7 separate regions of the Homo sapiens genome follow, and all the other regions are linked to region 1. The links are contacts of gene promoters, found by promoter capture Hi-C in blood cells and fetal thymus (Javierre and others, 2016). All regions are on one chromosome and are shown on one strand. Each heading gives the region's core, a stretch centred on a gene start or on the middle of the fragment in contact. The rest is flanking DNA. Distances are from core to core; before and after follow the strand shown.

The links. The method cuts DNA at HindIII sites, captures the fragments that hold promoters and counts their contacts. A CHiCAGO score of 5 or more calls a contact.
Region 2: a contact is called between a fragment that was not itself captured here and the fragment with the promoter of CCNB1 in region 1, in 8 of 17 cell types (total B cells, naive CD8 T cells, monocytes and 5 more). The highest score is 16.1, in total B cells.
Region 3: a fragment that was not itself captured here is called in contact with the fragment with the promoter of CCNB1 in region 1 in 1 of 17 cell types (total CD8 T cells); the score reaches 5.7 in total CD8 T cells.
Region 4: a contact is called between a fragment that was not itself captured here and the fragment with the promoter of CCNB1 in region 1, in 3 of 17 cell types (activated CD4 T cells, monocytes and non-activated CD4 T cells). The highest score is 7.0, in activated CD4 T cells.
Region 5: a contact is called between a fragment that was not itself captured here and the fragment with the promoter of CCNB1 in region 1, in 11 of 17 cell types (total CD4 T cells, monocytes, naive CD4 T cells and 8 more). The highest score is 12.3, in total CD4 T cells.
Region 6: a contact is called between a fragment that was not itself captured here and the fragment with the promoter of CCNB1 in region 1, in 1 of 17 cell types (activated CD4 T cells). The highest score is 6.8, in activated CD4 T cells.
Region 7: a fragment that was not itself captured here is called in contact with the fragment with the promoter of CCNB1 in region 1 in 1 of 17 cell types (fetal thymus); the score reaches 6.6 in fetal thymus.

Annotation. Positions count from the first base shown.
Region 1 is chr5:69,165,715-69,168,932 of GRCh38, forward strand. CCNB1 (cyclin B1) reads left to right here and starts at 1,436. Exons shown (of 9, transcript NM_031966.4): 1 at 1,436-1,569; 2 at 2,194-2,364; 3 at 2,459-2,629. The coding sequence starts at 1,549. RefSeq lists enhancers at 1,116-2,081, 1,462-1,691. The HindIII fragment of the contact is 10,262 bases long and covers 1-3,218 here.
Region 2 is chr5:71,591,333-71,594,550 of GRCh38, forward strand. It overlaps MCCC2 (methylcrotonyl-CoA carboxylase subunit 2), which reads left to right. Exons shown (of 17, transcript NM_022132.5): 2 at 1,594-1,660. Among named protein-coding and RNA genes, the nearest start is that of MCCC2, 5.6 kb to the left of the region's middle. The HindIII fragment of the contact is 540 bases long and covers 1,207-1,746 here.
Region 3 is chr5:71,560,744-71,563,961 of GRCh38, forward strand. It overlaps BDP1 (BDP1 general transcription factor IIIB subunit), which reads left to right. Exons shown (of 39, transcript NM_018429.3): 38 at 1,531-1,777. Among named protein-coding and RNA genes, the nearest start is that of MCCC2, 25 kb to the right of the region's middle. The HindIII fragment of the contact is 5,540 bases long and covers 1-3,218 here.
Region 4 is chr5:71,538,256-71,541,473 of GRCh38, forward strand. It overlaps BDP1 (BDP1 general transcription factor IIIB subunit), which reads left to right. Exons shown (of 39, transcript NM_018429.3): 27 at 787-823; 28 at 1,302-1,394; 29 at 3,199-3,218. Among named protein-coding and RNA genes, the nearest start is that of MCCC2, 47 kb to the right of the region's middle. The HindIII fragment of the contact is 3,292 bases long and covers 323-3,218 here.
Region 5 is chr5:71,480,746-71,483,963 of GRCh38, forward strand. It overlaps BDP1 (BDP1 general transcription factor IIIB subunit), which reads left to right. Exons shown (of 39, transcript NM_018429.3): 8 at 3,097-3,151. Among named protein-coding and RNA genes, the nearest start is that of BDP1, 27 kb to the left of the region's middle. RefSeq lists an enhancer at 2,657-2,951. The HindIII fragment of the contact is 1,468 bases long and covers 906-2,373 here.
Region 6 is chr5:67,012,881-67,016,098 of GRCh38, forward strand. The region is part of intron 4 of MAST4 (microtubule associated serine/threonine kinase family member 4); the gene reads left to right. Among named protein-coding and RNA genes, the nearest start is that of MAST4-AS1, 10 kb to the left of the region's middle. RefSeq lists a silencer at 2,141-2,435. The HindIII fragment of the contact is 2,177 bases long and covers 344-2,520 here.
Region 7 is chr5:67,162,284-67,165,501 of GRCh38, forward strand. MAST4 (microtubule associated serine/threonine kinase family member 4) reads left to right here. Exons shown (of 29, transcript NM_001164664.2): 28 at 324-505; 29 at 864-3,218. Among named protein-coding and RNA genes, the nearest start is that of CD180, 33 kb to the right of the region's middle. The HindIII fragment of the contact is 2,124 bases long and covers 579-2,702 here.

The DNA of each region.
Region 1 (3,218 bases), core at 186-2,685:
GATCGCACCACTGCACTCCAGCCTGGGCGACAGATCGAGACTCCGTCTCAAAAAAAAGTAAAAAAAAAAATTTTTAAACTGGAACACAGAGGATAAGTAATCCTGCTTCGCCCCTTGCCTCTCGCCCCTGCATGGGGCGAGGAAGGATTGATCAAACCCAGAAAGACTGAGTGAGAATGGATGTTGAACACAGAACTGAAGGATGAATGGGAGTTACCTGAATAGAACCCAGGGGCTTGAATGCAAGAAGAGGCGGGCATTCCAGGCAGAGGAGAGCAAGGGTAAGGGCCCCACGGGAGGCATTCGAGTAGGAGGGTGAACTATGATGACAGAAGACTCAATAACGATCCAAAGAAACCAAATGATTGGGCGCCTTCTTTCGGATCCGTGACTTCCAGCGCCAGGAGTCTCTATTGGCTCTTATACCGTTGCTCTATGGGATAGCAATGTTTTTGTCCTTCAGCCTCCCCTCCAATTGCTGAGCTGCTGGTGTGTTTTGAGGAGTAGAAGGCAAAAAGAACCCTCTTGTTTTTCTTTGGATCTAGAGAGAATCTGAGCAAATGACAAAGCAAATGGGGTAAAATGTCTTTTTGTTTAGTTTTTCCTGATTTTCCCATGAGAGGCAAATACATGTTAAGGATAGTTGAATCTGAGTAAAGGGCATAGAAATATTCCTTACAAGATTTTTGTTGGCAACTGGTCTAAGTATGAAATTATTTCCAAATAGAAAGCTAAAACAAACAAAACAATTGGCCTTGGGAAACTGGACAATCTTGAAGTAATCAAGTAATATTGTTAAGGGACAATCAGTGTTGTGAAAACAACACGGATACACCCCCTCCCTCCCCCTCAAAAAAAAAAACCCTAAATTCAGTTCCCCCGTTGCTAATGTGTGACCCTGGCAAAGTCATCTAAGTCGCTGAGCTTCAGTTCCTCCAACCCAGAGAGTTGTTGCAACGATCAAATGAAAGAATGTCTATTAAAGCCTTTCATGAACTATATTATTGCTGCTACCGTAGAAATGGAAAGTGTGCAACACTAGATCCAAAACTACTTTTGACACTTCTGAGACTGTGGCCGCGCCTCTGTCACCTTCCAAAGGCCACTAGGCCTTTCCTGAGCTGGCATTGGCAACGCACACTCTTGCCCGGCTAACCTTTCCAGGTGGGCGGCGCACTGGCTTCACTGCTCTCCAGGTGGCCGCTGCAGCTGCCCGAGAGCGCAGGCGCAGAGGCAGACCACGTGAGAGCCTGGCCAGGCCTTCCGGCCTAGCCTCACTGTGGCCCCGCCCCTCTCGAACGCCTTCGCGCGATCGCCCTGGAAACGCATTCTCTGCGACCGGCAGCCGCCAATGGGAAGGGAGTGAGTGCCACGAACAGGCCAATAAGGAGGGAGCAGTGCGGGGTTTAAATCTGAGGCTAGGCTGGCTCTTCTCGGCGTGCTGCGGCGGAACGGCTGTTGGTTTCTGCTGGGTGTAGGTCCTTGGCTGGTCGGGCCTCCGGTGTTCTGCTTCTCCCCGCTGAGCTGCTGCCTGGTGAAGAGGAAGCCATGGCGCTCCGAGTCACCAGGGTGAGCCGCTTCGGACTGCGAACTAACGCGGCCTTCTTAGCTGCTGCCTGCTCTCCCTGCCTCGCCTGCGGGAGCCTCCCGAGCGGGAGAGGGCCGCAGGAGCGATTTGGGGAGGAAGGTGGGAGGGGACTCACCAAGAGAGCGCCGAGGTGGGCCCAGGCCTGGTGAGAGAGTGTGGGGGACGATGGATGGAGGGAGGAAGGTGAGAAAGAGAACTGGACGGATATTGGATAAATGTTTTGGGGAGGTGGAGAGTCGACTGGGAACCTTTTGAAAAAGTGATAGAGGGTCCCTGAGTGGGCCCGCCAGCAACTCTGTAACCCCCTTCCCAGAGAGAAGGTGTCTGCAATTGGAGGCTTTTTCGGTTTCCTTTCAAATGTAAATTCTCGGTATTTTAGGGCTGGCCAGGACTAATCAGGGAATCCCTCAATTGGTAAATGTAGAGGTCGGCGGAAACTGACTTGTCACGGCCGCAGAGTAGACTCTGGGACCCATGTTTTCCCTCGGAACCCATTTTTAGTCGGCTTTCTTTCTGGGAACTTCTCCTTGTGCCCCACCTTAATTAACCCTTGACTTACTCGAGCCTTCGTGGATCAGCTCTTAAAGTGGTCTTGCTTCTTTCAGAACTCGAAAATTAATGCTGAAAATAAGGCGAAGATCAACATGGCAGGCGCAAAGCGCGTTCCTACGGCCCCTGCTGCAACCTCCAAGCCCGGACTGAGGCCAAGAACAGCTCTTGGGGACATTGGTAACAAAGTCAGTGAACAACTGCAGGCCAAAATGCCTATGAAGAAGGTAACTCTCTTCCTGACCTAACTTCTGTAAGAGCCCGCCTTCCAACTGTGGCCTTTGATGCAGAAACATTTCATTCTCTCTGTTTCATCTACAGGAAGCAAAACCTTCAGCTACTGGAAAAGTCATTGATAAAAAACTACCAAAACCTCTTGAAAAGGTACCTATGCTGGTGCCAGTGCCAGTGTCTGAGCCAGTGCCAGAGCCAGAACCTGAGCCAGAACCTGAGCCTGTTAAAGAAGAAAAACTTTCGCCTGAGCCTATTTTGGTAAACTTATTCTTACCATTGTAGAGTCTGTTGATTATTTCTTGTCCCTTATTTCACTGATACATGCAAGAGCATTCAAATGAATAGTAATATTAATACCATTTATTGAGTGCTTAGCATGAGGCAAGCTCTGCCTAACATTTTACATGCATTAACTCACATAATCTTTACACGTACTCTCTGAGGTATTGTCACCTCTACTATTTAAATCATGGCTTTAGAGAGGTTATGTCAGGGTCACACAGGTAAGTGGCCCATATGGGATTCAAGCTCAGGCTGTCTGGCTTCAGAATCTATGCTTTTAATTGTCAACTGTCTTATATTCCTTCGTTAATGATATTAAGTAGTAGCTGTCTGAGCCAAAGGCTTTGTTATCCAACTACAAGCCATCTCTGCAGAATTTATTGGCGTAAACATAGAATGTTCTCTTGAATTTTTTTACTGCTGCATATGGCTACTAAATAATAAGCCTGTAACATTGGAATATGCAAAGGAGTAAAACAGGAAGAAGGCAACTTTTCAGGGAGTGGTTAAGAAGATGAATTAACACTTAGCCTCAAAAATAATAACTTTTTATTAAATATAAGGT
Region 2 (3,218 bases), core at 227-2,726, 2.4 Mb after region 1:
GTGAAAAGTTAGTCCCTCTACCTCTTTTCTACTTCTCACTGTCAATATTTCCTTGTGTATTACTTAATTTGTGTATATATGCCAGCATAGAGTTTTGTTCTGTTTTTTTTTTTTTTTTTTTGAGATGGAGTTTTGCTCTTGTTGCCCAGGCTGGAGTGCAATGATGCAATCTTGGCTCACTGCAACCTCCGCCTCCCGGGTTCGAGGGATTCTCCTGCCTCAGCCTCCCGAGTAGCTGGGATTACAGGCAAGCACCACCTTGCCTGGCTAATTTTGTATTTTTTAGTAGAGACGAGTTTTCTCCATGTTGGTCAGGCTGGTCTCGAACTCCCGACCGTAGGTGATCTGCCCGCCTCGGCCTCCCAAAGTGCTGAGATTACAGGCGTGAGCCACCACGGCTGGCCGAGTTTTGTTCTTTTTACTAATTTATTTATTTATTTGAAACAGTCTTGCTCTGTCACCCAGGCTGGAGTACAATGGCACGATCCTAGTTCACTGCAGCTTCAAACTCCTGGGCTCAAGAGATCCTTCCACCTTAGTTGGTCAAGTCGCTGGGACACACCACCATGCCCAGATAATTTTTAAATTTTTATTCTTTTTATTTTTATTCTTTTTGTAAAGATGGAAGTCTCCCTATGTTACTCAGGCTGGTCTCAAACTCCTGGGCTTAAGCGATGCTCCTGCCTCCGCCTTCCAAAGCTCTGGGATAACAGACATAAGCCACCACACTCAGCCTGTTCTTTTTAAAACATAAAATAGGATCCTTGGCCAGGTGCGGTGGCTCATGCCTGTAATCCCAGCACTTTGGGAGGCCGAGATGGGCAAATCACTTGAGGTAAGGAGTTTGAGATCAGCCTGGCCAACATGGCGAAACCCGGTCTCTATTAAAAATACAATAATTAGCTGGGCATGGTGGCACACACCTGTAGTCCCAGCTACTTAGGAGGCTGAGGCAGGAGAATCGCTTGATCTCGGGAGGCGGAGGTTGCAGTGAGCCGAGATTGCACCATTGCACTCCAGCCGGGGCAACAAAGGGAGACTCTGTCCCAAAAAATAAAAATACAAAATTAAAAATAAAAATAAGATCCTTTTTCTCCCTCTGGGATTTGTTTTTAAGTGTACTTTGTCAGTAAGCAAGCATTGGTTGGAATCTCAGATAGTGACTGATGGGACAGGAAAAATAAGATGGTATTCTAACCTTCAAAAAGCTTATATTCCTTAAAATAGGAAAACAAATAGAGATCAGTTTAAGTTCAGAAGGTGTTTAAGGAAGAAAGATGTTAAATTGAGTAGGAGTGGCCAGAAGTAGAGTTGAAGATGAGATAAAACATGAATTAGGCTTACAGAGGAGTAAGATATGGAGAGATGGACAAGTGGGGTGGTGAAGAAGAGCTTGAACAAGACAGGCAGGGGTGAATCTTTTCCATACGATCCAGTGGCCCAGCGTGGCTGCCACAGATGGGGTGGCCCAGTGTGGCGGCCACACAGAGTTGGCACAGACCACTGTTTTTTTTTTTTTTTTGACCTTTATTTTGGTAAAAAGGAATTGCTTTCTAATATTTCTCTCCCCTGTCTCCTCTATTTCTGTTTTAGGAGAACTACAAGCAGATGAAAGCACTAGTAAATCAGCTCCATGAACGAGTGGAGCATATAAAACTAGGTAAACACAGCATTTATTCCACAGCTTATGCCTTTACTTAAGATGTCCTAAAATAGTTATTGCTTTTAGGAAAAATACTGGAATTAAGCTTTTGATATTTTTTTTTTTTTTTTGAGATGGAGTCTTGCTCTCTTGCCCAGGCTGGAGTGCAGTGGCGCCATCTCAGCTCACTGCAACCTCCGCCTCCTGGGTTCAAGCCATTCTCCTGCCTCAGCCTCCCAAGTTGTTGGGATTACAGGTGCCTGCCTCCATGCCTGTCTAATTTTTGTATTTTTTAAATAGAGACAAGGTTTCACCATGTTGGCCAGGCTGGTCTTGAACTACTGATGTCAAGTGATCCATCTGCCTTGGCCTCCCAAAGTGCTGCAATTATAGGCGTGAGCCACTACTCCTGGCTGAGCTTTTGACTCTTAAGACTATGCATTTGTTGGTATGCAGGCATTTAATTTTATTTTTCCTATTACTTGGCCAGTTTTTCTCTTCATAGAGTACTACCACTTTTGGGGGGAAAAGTAAAGATTCAAATTCATAAATTTTATGAATAAATAATTTATTTTTAATTTTTATTAATTTTTTTTTTAAGAGATGGGTTCTTGCTCTATTGCCAGGCTGGACTGAACCCCTGGCTCAAGCGATCCTCTCATCTTGGCCTCCCAAAGTGCTGGGATTACAGGTATGAGCCACCACACCTGGCCAGTGATTTCTTAGTAGGCATTTAATATTTCCTCCCTAAGTGCTGAATCTCAGATGGAAAGCATTCTTCATATTTGATAGACTGTTTCAGATAACTTTTATCAACAAGTATATAATACTTAAAATTGTATATAATACTTTTAATGTAAAATTTTACATTTAGGTTAGAGTAGTTTAAATACTGGATCTCAGGAGTATAAAAATAGTGAAGAAGACTGGATTTGGAAAGTATGGTCTAGAATTGCTTATTTACTAGTTTATTTAGAGACAGGGTCTCCTCACTCTGTTGCTCGGGCTGGACTCGAAGTCGGGAGCTCAAGTGATCTTCTTGCCTCAGCCTCCCAAGTAGCTGAGACTGTACCTGTGCCCCTGTACGCAGCTATGGAATTCATACTTTTGAAGCCATTTTAGATCAAGGTGTTGTCTCCAGAAAAAGAATTCAAACTCTTGCTGAAATGAAAGTGTTTTGTTAGGGGTGATAACTCAATTGTTATGCCCATTTTGAGAGTTTGATTTGGTGAACTCACTGTCCCCCTTAGACATTAAGATGGTGGGTTTTGGGGCCAGGCACAGTGGCTCACGCCTGTAATCCCAGCACTTTGGGAGGCCGAGGTGGGCGGATCACATGAAGTCAGGAGTTCGAGACCAGACTGAGCAACATGGTGAAACCCTGTCTCTACTAAAAATACAAAATTAGCTGGGTGTGGTGGCGCATGCTTGTAATCCCACCTACTCGGGAGGCTGAGGCAGGAGAATTGTTTGAACCTGGGAGGCGGAGGTTGCAGTGAGCCAAGATGGTGCCATTGCACTCTAGCCTGGGTAACAGAGCGAAATTCCGTCTCAAAAAAAAAAAAAAAAGAGGTGG
Region 3 (3,218 bases), core at 265-2,764, 2.4 Mb after region 1:
GGCTTGTCAGCAGCATCCAGAAGATTAATGTGGTGTTGCTGAACTGAAAGAGGTGGGGGAACATGCACTAGTCTCCACTAAGGGGAAGGGGTTGGGGAAAGGACACATGTAGCTTAAAAGACATATTTAATAGATCTATTGTTTTTGTTATCTAAATTATAGAAGGTAAAGCTCAGTGGTATCTCTTCTGGCCTTAGATATGTGCTGAAAATAGAATGAGGCCCAGGTACAGTGGCACATGCCTATAATCCCAGCTACTCAGGAGGCTGAGGCCGGAGTTTGAGATTGCAGTGAGCTATGATTGTGCCTGTGAATAGCCACTGCACTCCAGCCTGGGCAACATAGCCAGACCCGTCTCTGAAAAAAGAAAAAAAAAGGCTGGGTGCGGTGGCTCATGCCTGTAATCCCAGCACTTTGGGAGGCTGAGGTGGGTGGATCACCTGAGGTTGGGAGTTCCAGACCAGCCTAACCAACATGGAGAAGCCCCATCTCTACTAAAAATATAAAATTAGCTGGGCATGTTGGCACATGCCTGTAATCCCAGTGACTCAGGAGGCTGAGGCAGGAGAATCGCTTGAACCCAGGAGGCGGAGGGTGCGGTGAGCCGAGATTGTGCCATTGCACTCCAGCCTGGGCAACAAGAGCGAAACTGTCTCAAAAAATAAATTAAAATAAAATAATAACATCATGAGAGTTTGGATTAAAACAGGTTGAGAAGCAGTGTTCTAGAACGGAAGTCAGCATTTTTTGTAAAATGGCATTTGTATATATTTTAGGCTTTGTAAGCCATGTGGTCTCTGTTAACAGCTATTCAGCTCTGCAGTTACAGCACAAAAGCAACCATAGACCATATGTAAACAGATGAACATAGCTGTGTTCCAGTAAAACATACTCACAGAATTGGGTGCGGGGCTGCATGTGGCCTGTAGAGCATACTGTGCTGACCACTGTTCCACAGCTTTGCTACTCAGAGTGTAGTCCTGACAACAGCAGTATGGACATCATTTGAGAACTTGATAAAATGCAGAACTCAGGCCATGCCCGCTACCAACTGTGCGAATCTTCATTTTAATAAGATCCCCAAGTGATTTGAATGCTAGAGATGTTCTAGAGACCGGGGTCCTGCTAATTTTGCCCAGGCTGTTTTTGAGCTCCTGGCCTTAAGTGGTCTTCCCACCTTAGCCTCCCAAAGCAGAAGCAGGTATTAAGGTTGTGTCTTGGCTGGGTGCGGTGGCTCACGCCTGTAATTCCAGCACTTTGGGAGGCTGAGGCAGGCAGATGACGACGTCAGGAGTTCGAGACCAGCCTGACCAACATGGTGAAACCCCGTCTCTACTACAGCTACTTGGGAGGCTGAAGCAGGAGAATCTCTTGAACCTGGGAGGTGGAGGTTGCAGTGAGCCGAGATTGCGCCACTGCACTCCAGCCTGGGTGAGAGTGAGACTGCGTCTCAAAAAAAAAAAAAAAAAAAAAAAAAAAAGAATGTGTCTTCCTGGGTATTCTTGAATATCGTTACATTTGTATTTCTAGACCTGGCAGAAGACCCCTGGGATTTTTATCTTTAATATGCTCAAAGAATAGTTTGGAGTCTGATGAACCTATGCAAGTCCATAGTAAGAAACGCCTAAAACCTCTTATACCTGGATTAAGAAAGAAATTGAAAAGATCTAATCCATTCAATGAAAGCCAGGAAAAAAATCGAGAGTCCTCTGATCTGCTTCCATCTCCAAGTGTTATTACTACTCAATCTGAGAATATTAGCAGCTCAGCAACTCAGGTATGTGATAACTACTGTATTTTATAGTTTGTATGAGATGGGTTGGATATGAGATTCAACTAGGGAAAACATAGTAATTTGTTATTTTTATTTGATGTCAGAAATTATTTTAGAGCAACTCCCATCCTTCTCTCCATCGTGTTCCTCCATAATGGAAGAAGAAAAGGTGTTGAGTCAGGAAGTTACAGTTAGATTAGTACAGAGCCATTGAACTAACCATAAATGGACACTTAATAGCCATTCCTTTAATCTAGAGACCCTTCTGACTTGTGGAAGCAAAAGGAAGCAGTGCTGACACCCACAAGAATTTAAGGAACTGTAAAACTAGAATTTGTTCACATGTTTCATTTCTATGTCTCCTGAAGCTGTCCAATGGCAAGTATTGGGATGGAAAACTCTGTAAACCTGTATCAAAGACTTTGTAAAAATATTGGGGTGACTTAAGATCTTGACAAAGAGAAGGCTGGTGAGCATCTGTTGAACAGCATGAGCCTTTGGAAGGGGTACTTTTGTAAAGAACATCTTTAAACTTTTTAAAAACATTTTGTATTATTTGTTAGAATTATTTTCTGAGATCAAGATATCAGTCTAGCTTATCATTGCCAAAGTCGTGGGTTTTGTTTTTTTTGTGTGTTTGTTTTGAGACAGAGTCTCACTCACTCTGTCACCCAGGCTGTAGTGCAGTGGCGTGATCTTGGTTCACTGCAACCTCCATCCCCTGGGTTCAAGTGATTCTCCTGTCTCAGCTTCTCGATTAGCTGAGCTTACAGATGCATGCCACAACACCCAGCTAATTTTTGTATCTTTAGTAGAGGCGGGATTTCGCCATGTGGGCCATGCTGTTCTCAAATGCCTGGCCTCAAGCCTTGGCCTCCCAAAGTGTTGGAATTACAGGCATGAGCCACTGTGCCTGGCCTGTAGTGTTCTTATTATATTCAGGGAAAAAGGCCCTTTGTGATAAAGATTGCAATTTTTTTTTTCTCTGTATGTCATTTGTCTTTTGATTTTATTTATGGTGGTTTTTGTCAAGCAGACATTTTTTATTTCTGTTTAATTTGTCAATCTTTTATAGCTTTCTGCTTTCAGATAGTTTAAAAAGGTACTCTTCCCAGCTGGGTGCGGTGGCTCACGCCTGTAATCCCAGCACTTTGGGAGGCCAAGGCGGGCAGATCACCTGAGGTGAGGAGTTTGAGACCAGCCTGGCCAACATGGCAAAACCCCATCTCTACCAAAATACAAAATTTAATCAGGCACGGTGGTGTGTGCCTGTAGTCCCAGCTACTTGGGAGGCTGAGATAAGAGAATTGCTTGAACCCGGGAGGTGGAGGTTGCAGTGGGCTGAGATCATGCCATTGCATTCCAGCCTGGCTTTGTCTTAAAATAAATAAATAAATAAAAAGGTACCCTTCCCCACCTACCTCCGTCCAGAATTATAAAAGTG
Region 4 (3,218 bases), core at 719-3,218, 2.4 Mb after region 1:
ATTGGTCTGTACTTTTCTTGTGATGTCAGGAGATGAAGTCCTACTCCCCTAGGGAAAAATGCTCTCCAGGTGGGACCTTGGGGACTGGGGGCCTTGTATTTTTGGGTGCAGCAGTTTGAGGTGGAGTCTCTGCCATGCTGAGCTGGGAGGAAGGAGAGAGAAAGAGCAGTGTTAGTTCACATAGACTCTCACCTTTGTTAGCAAATTTTCAGATTTTCTTGAACAGATATTTCTTCATTTGCTTTTTGTCGTTAGGATCAGTTTCAGAGGCTTTTAAATGTTTTGTTTTTAAAATCAGTTTCACTGAGGAGTGGGTCAGTGAAGCTTCTCAAGCTGTCGCTCTGGACATTGGTTCTGTAACTTCTTAATTTATTAAAATGCATTTAAGTTTTAAGCTACGTAGTAGTATAAAAATTTTGCAATACCCTTTAGGCCTTGGTTTCCATTGGGTAAAAATTGGCAGCAGATATGACTAGAGTTGAAGGATTATGAAAATGAAGAAGTAAAGTAAGAATGGTAGACGTACATAACAAAATGATAAGAGTTAAAATTTGCACATAATACAAGAAAAAGATAAAGTCAGGAGCAAGAGACACAAGAATTTTGCCTTTAAATTGTTTATGTTCTTGCTGGTGAAATTTTGTGAATAATTATAAATTAAGACAAACCAGTTTACACTATTGTAGCTAAAAGTATGGAAAGACCTCTGAAAATGTAGTGCATGCTGAGAAACAGAACATGTTTGGGGAAGTATTTTAAGATGTTACTTATTTTTTTCCTTTTTAGGAAATGACCACAAGTGAACATATCCAAGATGAACCAGGTAACTGTTATCAAGGAAACTGCTAAGACTACCTTGATTAACACTAGTACAGTGATTTAATAGTGGGGATAATAAATGAATCAGTTTGCTGGAGAGTTTAACAAAAAGATTCAGCTATTGAATGTGTTGTCTCTGTGAGAAATGTGGATTCTTGGAATGTTATTTTAGAAGGTGAATTAAAAAAATGTTTAAGAAGTATTTGAGCATTTCCTCTGGATCTTCACAAATGGGAGAGCATTTTCCTTGAAGATATTATTTAATGGGAGGGAGGCATGGTCAGTGAGTCAAAACCAACAGTGATGATTTATTTATTTGTAGCATATAACCTGAACAAAAGACTACCTTAGTAAGGGATTAATGGCTCAGAGGATATTGGAATCTGCTCCTAGGAGATAAACACCTTAATTAAAAATCTTTTTTAAGTGAACAGATTTCCGGATTCATTCTTTTTTTTAATGTTGATATATTTCCTCACAAGGTACCAATGATGGAAGCACCGAAGCTGCAATAACTTTACTTACAATGGGAGATCTAGTATTGCAGTCAGAGATCAGTAGTGAACAGGGTGATGGTAAGAATGAAAGCTAAGTCCTATCAAAAATAGAAACTTTTAAAACCTAACTTAAGAAATTATACCCACATTTGAGTAATAACCCTTTTACCTTTGAAGTTGTCTCCATTTTGTTGTTCTTCCATAAAATATGATATGTATGTATTGATCCATCCACTATTTTACTACTGTTTAGGTGTAGTGACAGCTAATTCAAGATCATGCTCTTGGTTTATTAAGAATAATTTGTATTCATGGAATAGTTGTATGCATGGAATAGTTGTATGCATGGTAAAGGTAGTGAATACTACCTTTACCATCATAAATGTCATTGGTTAACTGAGCTCATTGATCACTGATATAGTTTATACATGTGTCTTTTGCAAAGGAGTTGCTGCTTGGGATGGTATTCACAATTAGATGACAAATAGAGCACAAAGAGACAATAGCACTCATTGAAATAATTTAGTTTAAACTGTTCTCAGTTTGGACAGAGCCAAAAGATATATCAACCAAGATTTTTAACTTATTAGATGGAAATCACAGACAAGTGATAAATCTTTACTATCTCAATATCTTTTAATTGCATGAAATGAATAATTATACTATTCCTGGTAATTATTTTGCCTGGTTACCATTCATTTTATTTACTTATTTATTTATTTGAGACGGAGTTTGGTTATGAGTAGCCTACCATTCATCTTATTTATTTATTTGAAGCAGAGTTTCGCTCTTGTCACCCAGGCTGGAGTGCAATGGTGCGATCTTGGCTCACTGCAACCTCTGCCTCCCAGGCTCAAGCAATTCTCCTGCCTTAGCCTCTCAAGTAGTTGGGATTACAATCGCATGCCACCATGCCCAGCTAATTTTTGTATTTTTAGTAGAGTTGGGGTTTCACCATCTTGGCCAGGCTGGTCTCGAACTGCTGACCTCAGGTGATCCACCCGTCTTGGCCTCCCAAAGTGCTGGGATTACAGGCATGAGCCACCGCACCCAGCTTCCATTCATTTTAAGTATTAGACTTTTGGGCCAGATGCAGCAGCTCATGCCAATAATACCAGCACTTTGGGAGGCTGAGGCTGGTGAATGCTTGACTTCAGGAGTTCAAGACCAGCCTGGGCAACATGGTGGAACCCCGTCTCTACAAAAAATACAAAAAATTAGGCAGGCATGGTGGTGTACACTTGTAGTCCTAGCTGCTTGGGAAGCTGAGGTGGGAGGATCGCTTGAGCTCAGGAGGTCAAGGCTGCAGTGAGCTGAGATCGCACCACTGCACTCCAGCCTGGGTGACAAAGTGAGACACTGTCTCAAAAATAGATAAATAAAGACATATTAGACTTTTAGGCTTGGAACCATGTATTTATCAGGAAAGTCTCTGATTTGTGTTCTGTATAGGGCTCCTTTCTTAGTGGCAGAGTATTGCAGTACAGCCTGTCAAAAACATATAGAACATAAAGTACATATAGAACATAAAGGTTTTAAAAATCTTAAATGCTGACAGTGCTGTCTTGAAATCCATCTGAGATTATATAATTACTGAAAGTAACAAAAGAACTCATTTTTACTAATAATCGGATAAAATTCCAGTCTGTAAGGATTATTAAGCTCACAACAGGTCAAATCCCTGGCATGAAATAGGGAGATCATAAATTTACAGCCAACAAGGGCAAAATTTATTTATTTCTAAAATCTTTTTCTATTGCTGCCACACAAATGAAGCAAACTTTAATAATACAGAATTTTACAATTACTAAATGTTGAGGAATTTATTTTGAGCATCTATAATTTGGTCCATTTTAATTTTGTTTTTTTTTTTTTTCTTCAGTAGGAGTATGTATAATTCCT
Region 5 (3,218 bases), core at 390-2,889, 2.3 Mb after region 1:
CAGAGATGTGGTTTCACCATGTTGGCTAGGCTGGTCTCGAACTCCTGACCTCAAGTGATCCACTCACCTCAGCCTCCCACAGTGCTAGGATTATAAGAAGTGAACCACCATGCCCGGCCAACCGTGAGTTTTTTTGAAATTGCATACTAGGCCAGGCGTAGTGGCTCATGCCTGTAGTCCCAACACTTTGGGAGGCCAAGGCGGGTGGATCACGAGGTCAGGAGATAAAGACCATCCTGGCTAACACAGAAACCCTGTCTCTACTAAAAATGTGAAAAATTAGCCAGGCGTGGTGGCGTGCGCCTGTAGTCCCAGCTACTTGGGAGGCTGAGGCAGGAGAATGGCATGAACCCGGGATGCAGAGGTTGCAGTGAGCTGAGATCGCGCCACTGCGCTCCAGCCTGTGAGACAGAGCAAGATTCCGTCTCAAAAAAAAAAAATGAAATCACATACCAGACATTGTGAATGATGTGTTGTAGAGTGTCTGGATTATGTTTTTTCTTTTTTTTTTTAAAGCGCAGTGGGCCAGGCGCGGTGGTTCACACCTCTAATCCTAGTATTTTGGGAGGCTGAGACGGGAGGATTGCTTGAGCCCAGAAGTTCAAACCCAGACTGAGCAACATGGCAAGATCCCATCTCTACAAAGAAAAAAAAAAAAAAAAAAAAAAAAGCCAGGCTTGGTGGCACACGTCCCCTAGCAATTCAGGAGGCTGAGGCAGGAGGATTGCTTGAGCCTGGGAGATCAAGGCTGCAGTGAGCTGTGATCACAGCACTGCATTCCAGTCTGGAAGACATCAAGACTCTGTTTCAATAAACAAAACAGAATAAAAAATAGTGTTGACTTTTGTTCTGGAAAACTGTTAATGTACTGCCAACTTCTTTGTTCCTGTTAAGGCTTGTCTTAAAGCTTTGTTGAGGCAGATCTAGACTGGTCTTTAATCTAGGACATCCTTTCTCCAATGGGATTTCTCATCTGATTTACAGAAAATAATTTGAATTACTATTATATTTTATTATTTTCTTCTTTTCCCAGAACAGTCTCATGGTAGGCATGAGTTATTATTTTCTAAGTTCTCTAAGGATGGTTATACTAATACTATACTATTAATAGATAAGTGAGAGAAGGGAATGCATTGCATACAGTGGCTGCTTTAATGCATTAGTACTTAATTCTCATGCTACATCCCTGGTAGAGAAAGGCTACTCTAGGGTATCGTTTTTATCTCTAATGGTGATCTTTCTGGTGTCTGAGGTGAATGTATTTGGGTATTAATGAGGTCTTTCCATTAGGATGCACCTGAACTCTATTGTCATATGGTGTTTTATGACTTTTAGCATCTTCCTTCTGCCTTCATGGCTTTAGCAGCTGTTCTCTTTTAAGCCTTATATTCTGGACATATGCAACCCATACTTAGGCCAAGGTATCATGGGGTATTTCCACCAGGCCTGTGAGGTACCCCTCTACACAGTTCCTTTTTAGAACTATGCTCCTAAAGATTCCCTACCTCTGCAGCCTAGTTGGATTGCTGTACCCTGTTTGGCCTTCACCTCCCTTTCCTTGGTTAGGAAATTGAGCCCAGGCAGAGAGCCAAGGTAAACATGGGCACATCTTGTCTGTTTTCCTTCTCTCCGTGATTGTAGTCTTGCTCTCACTATTGTCCTTTGCTTGAAAATAATTGATGCATATATTTTGTCAGTGTTAAAAGTCATTCGTGGTGGAGTTGGATATGTAGGACCTGTCCATAATGAGTTACTTTGCCAAGGCCAGAAGTGGAAATTATGGGATTTATTTTGTGATCATGGAATTTGGCCTGTTACTGGTTCTTACCTATGAAATCATTGACTAGTTTCAATATATTTCTTTGAGAAAGTTTTAAATTGTTCTGAATTATATTACCAATTAAGTAAAATATGAGGTAGCACTGTTTTAGAATTAAATGCCTGAAGCCTATTGATATTTCTTTTAGGACATTTAATTTAGTGTTTATAGCCAATCATTTTTTGTGGAGGTAACATTTGTTAACTTTTGAGGAAATGTTTAAATAACAGTATGATCTTTTAAGGCAGAAATAAGATTATCTTTGAAAACTTCTGTATTGATAATAAGTTTTGTGAAGAAAAACAAAAGAATGGGAAAGAAGGGCAACCTGTACATTAAAAGATGTTAATGTCATATCAGGTTTTAAAAATATGGGCAAGGCTAAACTGTATCATCTAAGAATACACACTTGGGTCATAAACAATAAGGAAATACAAGAAAGTGATTGCTTTACAAGTCATATTAGTGGTTAAGTTCTTTTGAAGGGAGGAAGGGGGCATGAAGTACTTCCTTTGTTTTATGTGATATTCTCTCTCTCTTTTTTGCAATTAAAAAGCTTTATTTTTGTGCTTTTAATAAAAACTTGTAGATCACTGACGTGTAGATGGGAAACATTGGCTGTTTGTTTCCTCTCCTACGATGTGTTTGCGTGATCAGACGTCTTCAGACACAAACTTATGCCCTCAGTCTTCCTAATGACTTTAGGATGGATTGAGCCTTAAGCCTTAAACATCTCCCTCTTAATGGAAGTAATCTGGTAGTAAACTGAGGACAGGGATTTTTGGGGCTGAGAAAAATGTGAGGAAATGTGCCTTAATATATAGAAGTTTGTCAGGATAAACTTGGCCTGCTTCAAAATTTCACTTAGTTGTTTCTCTATAGTCTTCTCTCCATGCTACTTGAAATATATTAGAACAATGATGTCAGAGGTTTAACCTGTTACGAATACTTAATTTTTTAAAAGTTAATACCAGTGAGCTTAGTCATAGGTTTGATCTGCTTTCATGTTTGTTGACTTTATTTTTTTCTGTCCTCTGTAAATCCAGCTTCCATTGCTGATTCATGCTATTGGTAATGAGAATCAAGAAGCTCAGTAAAAATCTTTCATCCTTATTTTTAAAAAGCCGAAGGTTTAAGTAACTTGCCTATTGGCAAAGACATATTAAGTAGAGAGCAGTATGTTATTCCTAAGAGTTTCATTTTAATGCTTACTGCATTTAAAAAAAAATGCTTGTTTTATGAGAGAAAATTACCATAGGGTTTTTTGTTGTTAACAGAATAAATTTAAACGGGAAGAGAAAACAAATGGATGGAGAATAGACAAAGCATTCCGTAAGTATTAAGACCTCTTTTACAAAGTATTACTTGAAGAGCCTAAAAAATGACCAGTCTTTTGTCT
Region 6 (3,218 bases), core at 182-2,681, 2.2 Mb before region 1:
TTATACTAATATCACAACTGACATATCATGGTTTTATTTTAAAGAAAAAAGACCATAGCAGAGAATTTAGGCTTTGATCAGTACTTGAAGGTAAAATAGATTGGTAAGAAGAATAGGCAGTCATTACTGTATATCTCTTATCTGAAGCACCCCATTGCTTACTTTATTATAGAATCCTGGGAATTTTTACATTCTGCTTTGTGGTCCTACATTTATCAGTGACTGATTTTGTCAGAGTTTGGGGGCTCTTAGCAAACTGTAATTGCAGGCAGTAGTACAAGCAAAATGCAGATCTTGACATCTGGTAGGCCAACCACCATTTTTATTCTGAAGTTCTTGAATAAGCTTTTAGCTGTTCAAAGTAAGTACCAGCACCTTGTGCCCCTGGAAAGTTTCTAACCTGACATGGAAGTTCAAGTGGCAGTATCTTTTAGAGGTAGTATATTGGGTTCTGAGTGAAAAACCTAGGTGGAGGGAATGAGAAACTGAAAATGTGAAATTTGCTGAGGTCTCTTAGGGTCATAGAATTAGAAGGGGAAGAAAGCTGATGGATTTACCAGGCCCATTTTGCCACATGAGTATTTGTTGAAGCTATCAAACAAAATAAAAGCTGTAAAGAAGTATGCTTTATTCTATCTAATTTTAAATGTTACAGTGTATGTTTATGTCTCACGCTTTACTGGGTTTCTTCCTTAAGAGTCGTTATTGGAATATTATGTAGTCATTGACAAATTTCTCAGCTATGAAATCTGTAGAAAATCACTGGATCCATAGCTTACATAAAAATCACTTATGCCCCTTTCACATTAATGTTTTCTAAAATGCAATAGGATGGATATATTTAAATTGGGAATTATAATAATTTAAAAAGTATAAGTATAAAATGTTTTACTTTTATAGATGTATGAAGGGGTTGAGGGAAAAAATTATGTTTGGCATGGGAAAAACTGCCAGCTGAATAAAGCACTCGAGGAAATATGGTAAATGAAGCCTTTGTTACTGTAAAACAATAGGCATTAAGTGGCTATTATGTAATGTTATTTCTTATGTCTGATTTGAGTGGCTTGTTGATCTTGGAACTTGAGATATAATTCCTGTAAAAATATTACTTTCACTTGGCTAATCTCAAGACTTTTGATACAAAAATCAAAGACTTTTCCAAATAGATTACCTAGATCAGGAACTAAGTACTGGAGCTACTGAAGCTATGTCAGATTTTTTTTTTTTCCATGTAAGGACTGATTTTATCTACTTAACTATTCCCTATCCTAGTACCCTTCCAGATAAACACAAGTAATTTGCTAACCCAAAAACTGGTTTATTGTAAAATTAACCTAGGCTTGCTCAACCACTGCAAAGGGCAGGCATGTGGCAAAACAATTGATAGGCACATCAGTTGCCTTGGCAAGTTGAATGGATGATTTTAAGTTCGCATTTCCATAGTAGGTCCCTAAGCAGAAGGATTTCTCATCTTTGATGTCAAATGGCCTTAGTGACCAGTGGAGCTAAACAGATGTGGGATAATTTGGGTGCTTTAGGTAATAGTTCTTGTTATGGATTCTGCAAAATAAGCCTCTAAGCGTATGAATCATAATTTCCTATATGTTTTAGGATTTGATGTCTGGGGTTACGTATTTGAACCGTGGAATAAAAGTTGCCGTATTTTTACTGTGTGGCCTGTAAAACTTATTTGTAGCATTCTTTCTCAATAGATGCCTTCTCTCCTGTGAAGTTCAGGCAGGTTAGCCTTTGAAATCAAGGATTTTTAAAGTGAAAAATCAATAGTGACTTTCTTAACATTGGAATCCAGGCTTAAGATCAGAGACCTGCTCTCTTCAGTCCAGTTCTTGGATCTTACTGCTTTTAATGCTATTTTACCAGCATAGCCATGGCCAAAATGCCATTTTAGCAGGTAGACTTCATTTTTCTATAACATTGTGATTATGTATTATTTGATGGCTTCTTGTAGAGGAAGCTCTTTAATCAAGAGCAATTGTGGTTTTTCTTACCTTTTGAGATTTAACCTTACAATTAGTCTACCTTCTCACATCAGATCTAGGGTGATTTAGAGGTCAAAGAGAACAGATACTGAACTGGTTAGCTATTAATATGATACAACTTCTTTATGCCATTTCTCGGATATAGAGACATTCCATGGAATGGGTCCCAGGTTGGAAATCCATGAGGGAAAAGGGTTCTGACTCTTGGCACTGATAAACATATTCAGAAATGTTGTATTCCAGCCAGAGTAAATATATATGCCCTTTATACTTTTTTTCAGTTAGCAGAAGTTACTTCTAAACACTTATTTTGGCATTAAGGAAGCTCGTCATGACCTATTGTTCCAGAAAGATTATAGTCCTCGTTTTAAGCCAGTTCTTTAGTTCCCATGTAAGTGGCATGCCCAGCCTGGAGCTGAAGAAACAACCCCTGCTTTTCAAACCTTCCATTCTTATAGGTGTGTCCAGCAGGCAGTGGCTTGTAGCTGTTCCTTCAGCCACTTAACAGGTTTGATTTCAAAGCTTTTTAATAGAGAAACTAACATGTTTGGAGGGGATTCATGGCCCAACATTTATGGATTTTGTTGGGAAGTCTCAGGTGTGTATTTATCTTAAGTATATGTTAAGGCTATTAGACAAAAGTAATTGTTTGTGCTTTGCTCTGTTTTGTTTTTGCCGTCTAGTCCTAGACTGAATTTCTTAAGATTATCTTAGGGATTGGACTGGGAGGGAGTAGTTCCGAGTCCCGAAGGCTATATATCTCCACTTTCAGTTCCTTTTCTTTGGCTGCCTAAAGAGGAGCACTAAAGAGGAGTCAAGTGATTATAAATTCGGCCAAAAGACAGAGAAACCAAGAGCTGGACGATTAACCTCTGAAACATGGGAAGTTAATTACATTTACAAATACTTGGAGGGGCTATTTATGAGTCATGCATCTCTCTGTGACCCTTTTACTGCTTTGGGAGCTTGTGGATGAGGCTGAATCACTCTCTGAAACCTGATAACCTGATAACCTAGTTTGGCTAAGTTTGGCTTCTGTGAACAGGGTCTGAGGATTTATCACATCACGTCATTTTTTCATTTGTATGCCAAATATTTATTGAGTACCTTTTATGTGACCAGGGCTATGATTATCACCTGGGAAACAAAGATATGTATAGCATGATCCTTTTCTTCAAGTAGCTCAATCTAGTGGGCTTTAGACAGTAATACAAAGAA
Region 7 (3,218 bases), core at 391-2,890, 2.0 Mb before region 1:
AAGCTTTCAAGCAAAGAGCATCCTCCTCATATACCTAACAAGTAAATGAATGTATTTTTAATGCATTTTATATTTTTCCTATTTTTCCAACTCTTCTTAAGTGTTTGGAATTGAGAGAGGCTCCATTGTCTACTATTAAATACTCTTCCTTTACATGTCATAAGAAGGTTTCTAATAGGAAAGTGGTGTTCTGCTCTTTAATAGGATCTGCTGTTGTATCCCTGTCCCTCACACGGAGTTATTGAGCTGAGCACAATGGTATTTTGGGGAGGCAGCAATAGTTCTGAAAGAAGACTGAACAATTTTTTCCTGTTTTTCTGTAGGAGGAGATCTCTTTTCAAAAAGCTAGCCAAGCAGCCTTCTCCTTTACTCCACACCAGCCGAAGTTTCTCCTGCTTGAACAGATCCCTGTCATCGGGTGAGAGCCTCCCAGGTTCCCCCACTCATAGCTTGTCTCCCCGGTCTCCAACACCAAGCTACCGCTCCACCCCTGACTTCCCATCTGGTGAGTGAGTCTCCTGGTCTAAACAGCAGAGGGGAGGGGAGGTAAAGTCATGTGAGGTCCCCAAAAAACATGAAGCTTGTTCCAGCTGAAAGAAAGCAGGTTGAAGGTGTAAATTATAAAGACAGATTTATAGAGAGGTCATAAGATGTGGCTATTCTGACCAAACAAATAAGTCAAGAAGTATGGGGCTAAACCTTGGCCTGGAGAGGTTTATCTGAAAAGTGTTTATTCCACTAGCTAAATGCTGAGACAATTTGCTGATCTTACCTGGCCTTACCTAATACAGTCTGGGCTACAACTGTGAAAAAAAGGGGAAAATGACCATGGATGCTCACAGCCTTCTGTTTTCCATCCACAGGTACTAATTCCTCCCAGAGCAGCTCCCCTAGTTCTAGTGCCCCCAATTCCCCAGCAGGGTCCGGGCACATCCGGCCCAGCACTCTCCACGGTCTTGCACCCAAACTCGGCGGGCAGCGGTACCGGTCCGGAAGGCGAAAGTCCGCCGGCAACATCCCACTGTCCCCGCTGGCCCGGACGCCCTCTCCAACCCCGCAACCCACCTCCCCGCAGCGGTCACCATCCCCTCTTCTGGGACACTCACTGGGCAATTCCAAGATCGCGCAAGCCTTTCCCAGCAAGATGCACTCCCCGCCCACCATCGTCAGACACATCGTGAGGCCCAAGAGTGCGGAGCCCCCCAGGTCCCCGCTGCTCAAGCGCGTGCAGTCCGAGGAGAAGCTGTCGCCCTCTTACGGCAGTGACAAGAAGCACCTGTGCTCCCGCAAGCACAGCCTGGAGGTGACCCAAGAGGAGGTGCAGCGGGAGCAGTCCCAGCGGGAGGCGCCGCTGCAGAGCCTGGATGAGAACGTGTGCGACGTGCCGCCGCTCAGCCGCGCCCGGCCAGTGGAGCAAGGCTGCCTGAAACGCCCAGTCTCCCGGAAGGTGGGCCGCCAGGAGTCTGTGGACGACCTGGACCGCGACAAGCTGAAGGCCAAGGTGGTGGTGAAGAAAGCAGACGGCTTCCCAGAGAAACAGGAATCCCACCAGAAATCCCATGGACCCGGGAGTGATTTGGAAAACTTTGCTCTGTTTAAGCTGGAAGAGAGAGAGAAGAAAGTCTATCCGAAGGCTGTGGAAAGGTCAAGTACTTTTGAAAACAAAGCGTCTATGCAGGAGGCGCCACCGCTGGGCAGCCTGCTGAAGGATGCTCTTCACAAGCAGGCCAGCGTGCGCGCCAGCGAGGGTGCGATGTCGGATGGCCGGGTGCCTGCGGAGCACCGCCAGGGTGGCGGGGACTTCAGACGGGCCCCCGCTCCTGGCACCCTCCAGGATGGTCTCTGCCACTCCCTCGACAGGGGCATCTCTGGGAAGGGGGAAGGCACGGAGAAGTCCTCCCAGGCCAAGGAGCTTCTCCGATGTGAAAAGTTAGACAGCAAGCTGGCCAACATCGATTACCTCCGAAAGAAAATGTCACTTGAGGACAAAGAGGACAACCTCTGCCCTGTGCTGAAGCCCAAGATGACAGCTGGCTCCCACGAATGCCTGCCAGGGAACCCAGTCCGACCCACGGGTGGGCAGCAGGAGCCCCCGCCGGCTTCTGAGAGCCGAGCTTTTGTCAGCAGCACCCATGCAGCTCAGATGAGTGCCGTCTCTTTTGTTCCCCTCAAGGCCTTAACAGGCCGGGTGGACAGTGGAACGGAGAAGCCTGGCTTGGTTGCTCCTGAGTCCCCTGTTAGGAAGAGCCCCTCCGAGTATAAGCTGGAAGGTAGGTCTGTCTCATGCCTGAAGCCGATCGAGGGCACTCTGGACATTGCTCTCCTGTCCGGACCTCAGGCCTCCAAGACAGAACTGCCTTCCCCAGAGTCTGCACAGAGCCCCAGCCCAAGTGGTGACGTGAGGGCCTCTGTGCCACCAGTTCTCCCCAGCAGCAGTGGGAAAAAGAACGATACCACCAGTGCAAGAGAGCTTTCTCCTTCCAGCTTAAAGATGAATAAATCCTACCTGCTGGAGCCTTGGTTCCTGCCCCCCAGCCGAGGTCTCCAGAATTCACCAGCAGTTTCCCTGCCTGACCCAGAGTTCAAGAGGGACAGGAAAGGTCCCCATCCTACTGCCAGGAGCCCTGGAACAGTCATGGAAAGCAATCCCCAACAGAGAGAGGGCAGCTCCCCTAAACACCAAGACCACACCACTGACCCCAAGCTTCTGACCTGCCTGGGGCAGAACCTCCACAGCCCTGACCTGGCCAGGCCACGCTGCCCGCTCCCACCTGAAGCTTCCCCCTCAAGGGAGAAGCCAGGCCTGAGGGAATCGTCTGAAAGAGGCCCTCCCACAGCCAGAAGCGAGCGCTCTGCTGCGAGGGCTGACACATGCAGAGAGCCCTCCATGGAACTGTGCTTTCCAGAAACTGCGAAAACCAGTGACAACTCCAAAAATCTCCTCTCTGTGGGAAGGACCCACCCAGATTTCTATACACAGACCCAGGCCATGGAGAAAGCATGGGCGCCGGGTGGGAAAACGAACCACAAAGATGGCCCAGGTGAGGCGAGGCCCCCGCCCAGAGACAACTCCTCTCTGCACTCAGCTGGAATTCCCTGTGAGAAGGAGCTGGGCAAGGTGAGGCGTGGCGTGGAACCCAAGCCCGAAGCGCTTCTTGCCAGGCGGTCTCTGCAGCCACCTGGAATTGAGAGTGAGAAGAGTGAAAAGCTCTCCAGTT